2 separate regions of the Homo sapiens genome follow, and region 2 is linked to region 1. The links are contacts of gene promoters, found by promoter capture Hi-C in blood cells and fetal thymus (Javierre and others, 2016). All regions are on one chromosome and are shown on one strand. The core of a region is centred on a gene start or on the middle of the fragment in contact, and the rest is flanking DNA. Distances in the headings are between cores, read along the strand shown. Region 1 holds the start of CDC42EP4 (CDC42 effector protein 4). Region 2 overlaps SLC39A11 (solute carrier family 39 member 11).

The links. Contacts are between HindIII fragments. The CHiCAGO score rates a contact against its expected background, and 5 or more counts as called.
Region 2: a fragment that was not itself captured here is called in contact with the fragment with the promoter of CDC42EP4 in region 1 in 3 of 17 cell types (non-activated CD4 T cells, total CD8 T cells and fetal thymus); the score reaches 7.9 in non-activated CD4 T cells.

Annotation. Positions count from the first base shown.
Region 1 is chr17:73,309,578-73,313,947 of GRCh38, forward strand. CDC42EP4 (CDC42 effector protein 4) reads right to left here and starts at 2,424. Exons shown (of 2, transcript NM_012121.5): 1 at 2,316-2,424. RefSeq lists silencers at 1,173-1,302, 1,313-1,862, 2,313-2,572, 2,643-2,802. The HindIII fragment of the contact is 11,652 bases long and covers 1-4,257 here.
Region 2 is chr17:72,722,299-72,726,668 of GRCh38, forward strand. All of the region lies in intron 7 of SLC39A11 (solute carrier family 39 member 11), which reads right to left. Among named protein-coding and RNA genes, the nearest start is that of LINC00511, 84 kb to the left of the region's middle. RefSeq lists an enhancer at 3,243-3,312 and a silencer at 3,363-3,432. The HindIII fragment of the contact is 904 bases long and covers 2,072-2,975 here.

The DNA of each region.
Region 1 (4,370 bases), core at 1,174-3,673:
AGAAACGAGGGGAAAAGAGAAGAGGAATCCAAAAAGAGAGAGGCAGAAACCCCAGAAAATGGAGAATCATTCACAGCACAGGCCTAGGCTGTACAGCAGAGCAGGAGCAAGCTGCCCTCTGTGTGCAGGGACCCTAGGACTTCAGGGAGATTTCAGAGGGGAGGCGCTGAGACTCACCCCAGAACCACCGCCCATATGATCACAGCGGGCCCCTCCTAGTCCCTGCAGGGGTCCACCAGGATGCCTGGGAATCCACTTGGGATCTCCCCAAATTCACTGAACACCCCTTGTGGGAAGGAGCAGCTGTCTTCAAGGAGTGGAGAGGCAAAGTCCAAGTTCAGAGGAGATAAGCCACCCCACTAATCAGTCAGTCACATGTGCAGCTCACACAGGGCAGTTGATGAGAGCAGGAACCGGCAGGGCACCCCCGCATTCAGTAGGCACTGGCTTCTCAGCAGAGATAGAGCCTCAGGAGATCCTGGTGGATGCCCTGTTATTGCCCCAGGAGCCCCTGGGGCTGCCAGGGGCTCTCTTAGGGCCTGGCTCAGTCCCAGCCAACTCCCGATTTCTGGGAGAAATCAGAAATCCGCAGCTCAGCAATCCCTTCCTTTGTGGCCTGTTCTTTGTTCTCTTAAAATTCAGTCCACCCTGCTGGTGGTCCCTCCTCCACCCTAGCCTCAGAAGCGGGCGGGGGCTGAGGGAGTTATTGGAAACCCAGACTGCCAAAGAAGTCGCCTTGCAGGAGGCCCCTGTCACCGGCCCCTCATTATTTACACTCGCTGGATGGGACATTTCTCTGGTACAGATGGCTGCTGGGGTTCGGACGAGAGAGAGATTTTCCCTCCAGCACCCTGGACCCTCAGGGGAGGGCAGGGGGCTTCGCAGCGACGGGGGCTCCCAAGGACTCCACCCGGATCCAGCTGCTCAGCTATCTGGGCAAACAGTGGGCACCGGGCACACAGTAAGGGATGTGGGAGCCGGTCAGATTGCAAGGGGTGGGAGTCGTGGAGAGAGAGAAGTTCCAGAGGCAACGAGAAAAGAAAAGGCATTGTATTTCCCCTCCATTCTCCCAGGGAGAAAAAGAAAACTTCCAAAGCCGAGGCCGCAGTCACTGGGAAAACACAGGGAACCTGGTTTGAGTTAGCAGCGAGCACCCCTCCCCCAGTCACACACACACACACACACACACACACACACACACACACACACACACACACGCACTTCAGTCCTCTCCCAGGAAGCTGGCTCAGCCTCAGCCCCGGCTCCCGCCCAGCTCTCCAGCCCTCCCGGCCGGGGCACTCACCGGCTGACGGGATCCCCGCGGGCAGGATGGCTCCTGGGGGACGCGCCGGGGGCAGGGGGCAGTTTTGTAACCCCGGCTGGGGGCGCTCCGGAGAGGGGGCGGGGCCAGGGACGGCCGATCCGCGCGCACCCGCCCCAAGCGGGCGATTAAATCATTAACCGACCGCTCCCGCCTGCGATCCCGCTGAGCGCGCTGAGCTCGGGGCGCACTAGCCCAGGAGCGGCCGTCTCCCCGGCTCCAAGGGGGCGGGTGGCTCGACTGCCCTCCCCCCGCACCCCGCCAGGAGGCGCCTCGGCCTCCCGGGCTTCCGAGGGAGCGGGCGGGGCGGGAGCCTGGCGGGGGAGGGAAGGGTTCGCGGGGCGGGAGTAGGGGAAAGGAGGACCATTTGTTCCTTCGGCCATTCCCTTCCAGACAGCTCCTTCCCTCTGGCTTCCCGGCCGGGTGACATTGGGTGGCGTGTGCTGCAGTGTGTGTACGAGAGCGAGATGTGTACACGCCTCTGCCCGTACAGGCGGAGAATTCGGTTCTTATTCATGGAGAACTCCGGGCGCACACACGCCCCCCTCGCGGAGATCGCGGGCCGCGCGCCGCCGATTGCTGCGCTCCTGCCCACACCGACACACACCCCATTCCTGGGAAGGGGGAGGCCCTTTAAAACCGGCCCCCAACCCCCTCAGCGGCACCCTTGGCCAGGGCCGGGAGTTCCAGCGTGGAGAGAGGAAATGGAGTCCCGGCAACGCTGCGCCCGGCTCCCTGCCACCTCCTCCTCCACACATCCCGCTCTGCCAGGACACTAGGTGCGCAGCTTAGGGTCCCAGGCACCGCGGTGGGCGCGGTGAAAAGCGCGAGCGCCGAGAAGTGGGGGCTCCGCGCCCTTCTCCCCGCGCCGCGGCCTCGCATCCCCAGCTTCGATCCTCTCTGCCCCACAGGGGGACTCGAGACCCCCAAGCCCACCCAGGGCACCCAGCGCGAAGGCGGCTACCACAGACAGAGGCGGTTGCCCGTCGCCTACCTCGGTCCCCGGAGACCCGAGCTCTGGGCCGGCTGCGCTGTCCCCTTCGTGGGCTCCGCGCGGCGGAGGGGCTGGCGGCCCCTGTCAGCGCCGGCGTTTGTTTCCCTCTGGCTCTCGGGCTTTCAGGGCTGGGAGCCTCCAGGACACTCCCCTTCCAGGCTCCGCCCGCGCCCGCCCCGCGCAACCCTCCCCGCGCACCCCTCTGCGCTGATGTCACGGCGCCGCAGCAGCCAATGGCCGTCGGGAACCTCTGCCCGACTGCTCGGCCTCCTCGGTTCAAACTGAAAGCCTGAGACTTTCCCAACTCCGTATGGGGCAGCCTGGGCCCGCCCGGCTTCCGGGAGACACTCCCGCCCCAGCCTGCGCTCCGGCCGCGAACCCCCACTGGGGCCCCCAGGGCCAGGGGCGCGTCTCCCTCCGGGGGCCTGGCGCGAGGCTCTTTTGAGGCTCTTCCCCATTCGAGCCGGGGCAAGAAACCAAGAACTCCAGCCCGGGTGGCGTTCCTCGTTCCTGCTCCCTCCCGGACCTGCTAACCACCTGGCTGCAGTACTGTCGGGAGATGGGGCAGGAGGGCTGGCGCCACCAGCTTCGTGGGTGCCATCCCAGACTCTCGCTGTAAACGAGGGAGCGGGGAGGAGCCGGCCAGCCCCGAGGCCAGGCTTGGACTGGGCGTCAGAAATGTTTCTACAGGGTGACAGCCCTTGAGCTCCCCGCATCCCCGTCTGTGCCTTTGCCTCCTAAGTATCAGCTGAGGCTAAATTTGCACCAGGTGAACGTCAAGGAGGATCAACTCCTGAGTCCCAGAGCCTGAATCCAAGTCCCAGGCCTTGGACTCTATTCTTTTTAGAGGAATAGTTTCAGTTGAAATGATCATTATCAAGGTAGAATGCCAGCTGCGAAGTAGTCAACTAAAGTGGACAAGGCGCAAAGTGAAAAGTTCCCTTGCCTCTAGCTGAACCCCACCCTCGGTTTTTAAAGGAAGTGAGGGTGAAGGCCCCAGACTTTCCCCATGGCTGCGAGGTCCCTAAGCCCTCAGGAACATTCTGCTTTCTGGGGACAGCACATTTCCGTTTCCCTCTGCAGTGCGACAGCAACCAGCTCTTGAGAGCTAATGGTTTGGCCACTCCATCCTGCTGTGAAAATTAAGTTCTGGGCTGGGCGCAGTGGCTCATGCCTGTAATCCTAGCATTTTGGGAGGCCAAGGCAGGTGGGGGGTCACTTGAGGTCAGAAGTTTGAGACCAGCCTGGCCAACATGGCGAAACCCCATCTCTACCAAAAATACAAAAATTAGTCGGGCATGGTGGTGGGCGCCTGTAATCCCAGCTACCCAGGAGGCTGAGGCGGGACAATCGCTTGAACCTGGGAGGTGGAGGTTGCAGTGAGCCGAGATCGCGCTATTGCACTCTAGCCTGGGTGACAGAGGTAGACTCCATCTCAAAAAAAAAAATAAATGAATAATAAGTAAAATCAAATTCTGAACTGGACATCTGGAGGGAAAGGTAGGGTTTGGAGCCACTTGGGAGGCAGACACTGTGGATTCAAACCCTGGCGGGGTTATCATGGATGTAAACCAAAAAGTGACTAAGGCAGATCTCAATCAAATAGAGGTTTAGTTAGCCAAGGTTGAGGATCCACCGGGGAAAAATCACCTTTTTTCCAAAAAGGTTTTGGGAACTTCTGTATTTAAAAGAGAAAAAGCAAGCAGGAAAGGAAAAGAAGAGGGAGAGAGGGAGGAAAGGCATTGAGGTCACAAGCGTGTGAGGCTCTGATTTAGTGTCTGTAAGTCTACATTTTACATGTGAAAGGGAATAGAAGAAAAAGTCAATGATGCATTGTCTCCTACTCAGTACGTCTAAGGGGAGCAAAGGAAACCCTGTGTCAACAGGGTTGTGAAACTGCAGCTATCTGGGAACAAAAGGAAAGCAGCTTCTGTGGTTTCCAAGCTTAACGTCCCCCCCAGCCCCGCCCCTTTTTTTTTTTTGGAGACAGGGTCTTGCTCTGTTGCCCAGGCTGGAGTGCAGTGCTGCAATCGTAGCTCACTATAGCCTTGGCCT
Region 2 (4,370 bases), core at 1,274-3,773, 590 kb before region 1:
AGGGAACACATTTTAAAAATACACCGTCCAATTTCAAGAAACTAGATTTTCAACAGATGAAAACAGTAGCAGAATAAATTGCAGAGTCCAGATCATCTTGTCGCATTGCCCAATGGAGTTCAAACGGATTAGTTTGTATCAAGAGCATAATGACAAACCAGGTATTATTATGCAAGGTTTTCATATTGTTTTACAGAATTTGAACTGGGGTGGGGTGGGGGAGGGAAAAAGTAAGGTCTTTGGAAGGTCTTTGGTCTTTCTGTTTGGAAGACAGAAAGGACTTTGTTTTATCCTGAGCTCCTGATTTCATGAACTAATTTCTGGTGGTAAATAACACTTTTTTTTTTCTTTTTTGAGACAGAGTCTCGCTCTGTTGCCCAGGCTGGAGTACAATGGCACGATCTCAGCTCACTGCAACCTCCGCCTCCCGGGTTCAAGCGATTCTCCTGCCTCAGCCTCCCGAGTAGCTGGGATTACAGGTGCCTGCCACCAAGCCTGGCTAATTTTTGTATTTTTTAGTAGAGACAGGGTTTTACTGTGTTTGCCAAGCCGGTCTGTATCTCCTGACCTCAAGTGATCCACCAGCCTCGACCTCCCAAAGTGCTGGGATTACAGGCATGAGCCACTGCACCTGGCTGCACTTTCTAGAAGGGTGATCTCTCATAAAATAATTCACTGACCATGGCGGTCTACGATTGCATCTTTCCTTCAATGCCTTCACTTTGAAAAATATAAAGGGTGGCCGTCGTTTGTCAGTCTTTACATATTTGGGGGACGTCTTCATTGTCCAACAAAGCCCAACAGTCTCATAGCCATGGATACAATCTGCCTTTCTCACATGATGCACGTAGAAACTGAGGCACATACAGTAAGGGCCGAGTGCTCAGTCAGGTTGTCAGGTGCTTGTCAGGTGAAGTCCCAGATGCTTCATAGAGAGATGTCACCAGGAGGACAGAGTGCTGAAATGAGCACGTGTCTTAAAATCCCTCCCAGGATTTTCTTTGTCTTTGTAGGAGTGTAAGAGTGTGTGTGTGTGTGTGTGTGTGTGTGTGTGTTTGCAGCCTAGCTGTCAGGAGGTCTGGATTAGAGAATTTCTCCATCCTTCAAAGGAAAACCATCTTTCAGAGTAAGTAGTAGCAGGAAGAGATGGATGACAGTAACTGGATTTGTAATACCAGTGAGGCCAACCCCAAACACACACAACCATCACCCTACATGTGGATTGTCTGTGCTAGGAGAAGAAAGTACAGGCGTGAAGAGTGCTAACTTCAGAACACCCCAAAATCAACTAGATTTTTCTTTTTGCCATTTTTGAGGTGATACATTTACTTTTCGAATGACTTCCGTTGAATAATGTTATTTGTTCCATCAGTCCTGGGGAGTGAAGAAAGTGGGTCGTAAAAGTCTGCCAGACACAGACGAAGCCAGACCAAGATGGAACCTTGTGGGCAATCTCAGGTTAGCAGGTAATCAGATCATTCACCCATCTGTCCATCTGTTTATCCAATTCAACCCAGAGATTCACAAGCACCAGGCTCCATGATGGCATATTTTGCAGGCAAATGGCTATTAAGTTCTTCATTCTCCTCCACGTGTTCTGGAAAATCACCAGGTTTCCAGGTAACGACGGGATTGTATTTGTCAGCACAGAACTGGGGATGTGGAGGACAAAGTCTCCAAGGAGTAGTTCTTCTTCCCTGGTAGGATTTCTCAGTCAAAGAAAAATCTTAGACGTGCAACTATTGGGCGATCAGTGGTGCTAACACGGGAACACACATCTTACTGGCAAAACACTGTCCCTTTTATTTTTTTTTTTCTGTAAAACGTTGCTCTTATTGGGAGCTTGAAAAGCATTATCATAAAAAGCCATGGGAAGGGAGAAGGGGAGAGGAAAGAGAGGGACAGAGGGGGATAAGAATTGCCCAGGTTTGGACAAGGACTCTGGAGATGAGGCCCAAGATGATTCATTTCTCCCTGTTCGCTTCCCAGCCCTCAATCCCATCTGGCTCCTTTCATTTGAGTTTTCTATTGCAATGCACAAAACAGATAATTTTCCAAAAGCTTGCTCAAAAGCTTCCAGGTGGTCCAAGAATGGGAGGGGCACTTCTTGCAGTTCAAATGGGACAAGAGAAAAAACATCAAGAAAGCGGTGGGGGGGAGTGAGCTTCAGAGGGGAAGCTGAGACAATGAGGAAAGCAGACCTTTTGAGACATCCTGGATGTTCCCTCCACCCTCTGAAATGGAAACATGACCAGCTACAGACAGATCAGCTCTTAGAGGGGAGGAAAGAGCCCCAGGGTTCAGGAACCAGGAGCTCTGACTTGAGTCATCCCTGATGACTTCCTTTTCCACTCTGAGACTTCAGTTTCTTCACTTATAACATTAGAGACTTGGGCTAGATCAGGGATTTTCTGCCAAGTGCAGAGGGGAACTTTCATGGAAAGGGTGGTATCTATTCCATCCAGAGTGTTCGCTTAGGAACTTGTTCCAAAAGCTCAACTGCTAAAAAAAAAAAAAATACTTAAGAGGCAAGATGATCTTTCAAAGTCATGTCCAGCCCACCAGTCCTACAAATTCAAGCCTGTTTTCCCAGTTGCAGTTGATGAAATAACTATTCTAAGTTCTCTCTCTCCAAAAAGATGAATCCTGTGCTCAGTGAATCTCTGTGGATTGAAGGGATGGATGGATGGACAGACTGATGAATGACTTGATGGCAAATTACATAGGATGGTGAGAACCTGTTTGATCCTGGTCTGGCTTTGCCCATGCATCCGGTGGACTTCCTTGGCCTGGCCCACTTTCTTCACTTCCCAGAACGCATGCAATAAATAACATTATGTTTTTAAGTCACTAGAAAAGTAAATGTCACCCTCTCCCCTCCAAATGGCAAAAAGAAAAACTGAACTGATTTTTGGGTGTCTGGAAGTGAGGACTTTTCGCACCTCTATGCTCCCCTGCTAGGGTAGACCATCAAAAGCTTGGAGTAGCTTCTGACACTTTAATTGGCCCATTTCACATTTCTACCCCTCTACGTAGGGTCACATAAAAGCTATACTTTTATTCCCAACATGGGAAAATAAGACAATAACGAGCTTTATAAATGCTTAATTAAATGGGGGGTGAAAAATCAGGGTATAACAGCCAGAATATAAGGATGTTACTATTTTGAAAAATATCCAAAGCAAAGTTGGACATGTCCAAAGTTACATGTAACTTACATATATGGTCCTTAGCCTTCTGCAGATACACCTTCTGTACAAGCCGAACATAGATTTGGATAGCGACACACAGTCACCTTTCCTGGTCAAACTTTTTCCTTCTGGTACTGTGTCTAGCAACCTATGCTACCAAGCTACCGCGTGGTGGCGCCGTCTGTCCACCGCTGCCAGCCGGCACTTTCAAATTCCACTGTCTCTTTGTAAGGTGAGGCTGTGTAGTGTGGCAGGATGAGCCAGGAAAACTGAAGAGAAGGAGCTGCCAATAGATCACTCTAGAATTCCAGACAGGGTAGTGTGATAGGTTCAAGAGAAGAGCTTGCCTGCATAAAATAAAATTGAGAGCACAATGTGCGATTGCAGATAAAGAATAGAACAGGATTGTGCCGAAGTGACTCAAGGGTGGGAGGGGCATTTTTCTGCTGTGAAAGGGTGGGGACAGTGGGATCAAGATGTCAAAGTATTTTCTCCACAAGTACCTTAGTGTCCTCAGGCTGGGTCTCCAATTCTCAGGCTAAAAGCCACTCTCCAGGGAGACCAGGCTGGGAATGCTGAGACCCAAGTTGCTAGGCAGGGAGGAGGTTAAGATCAGCAACTTTGAGGAAGTAAGGGTCTCCCTAGGATGCTCCACGAGTCTGGGAGACTGAGTGCTGCCTGGGGCAGGTCTAGGCATTGCAAGAGCAGCTGCATGGAGGCTTGGAGGGAGCCAGTGAAGACAGCTTGCTTGTTCAAAGATGTTAGAGTGAACTATAATTAAAATGTTTCCATGTGAGTTCTCCGAGACTCCTCCCCGCCACAACAATGAAGTCTCCTTTGTAACTTCTCTACAGGTAACCTGCAAGCATGCTTTCAATAATCTACAGGATGCACACCTGGAGTCCCAGCTACTTGGGAGGCTGAGGAGGGAGGATTATTTGAGCCCAGGAGGTCAAGGCTGCAGCAAGCTATGATTGTGCCACTGCACTGCGGCCTGAGCAACAGAACAAGATCCTGTCTACACACACACACAAACACACACACACACAATCTACTGGAGCAAAAGTAGAGGGGCTGCTTGGACAGGTAGACACACATGTAACGTATCTTACACATACAGACATGCTCATCTACTAGCTAATGTTGATGAATGACCAGGAAAATATGTCAAAATATGCC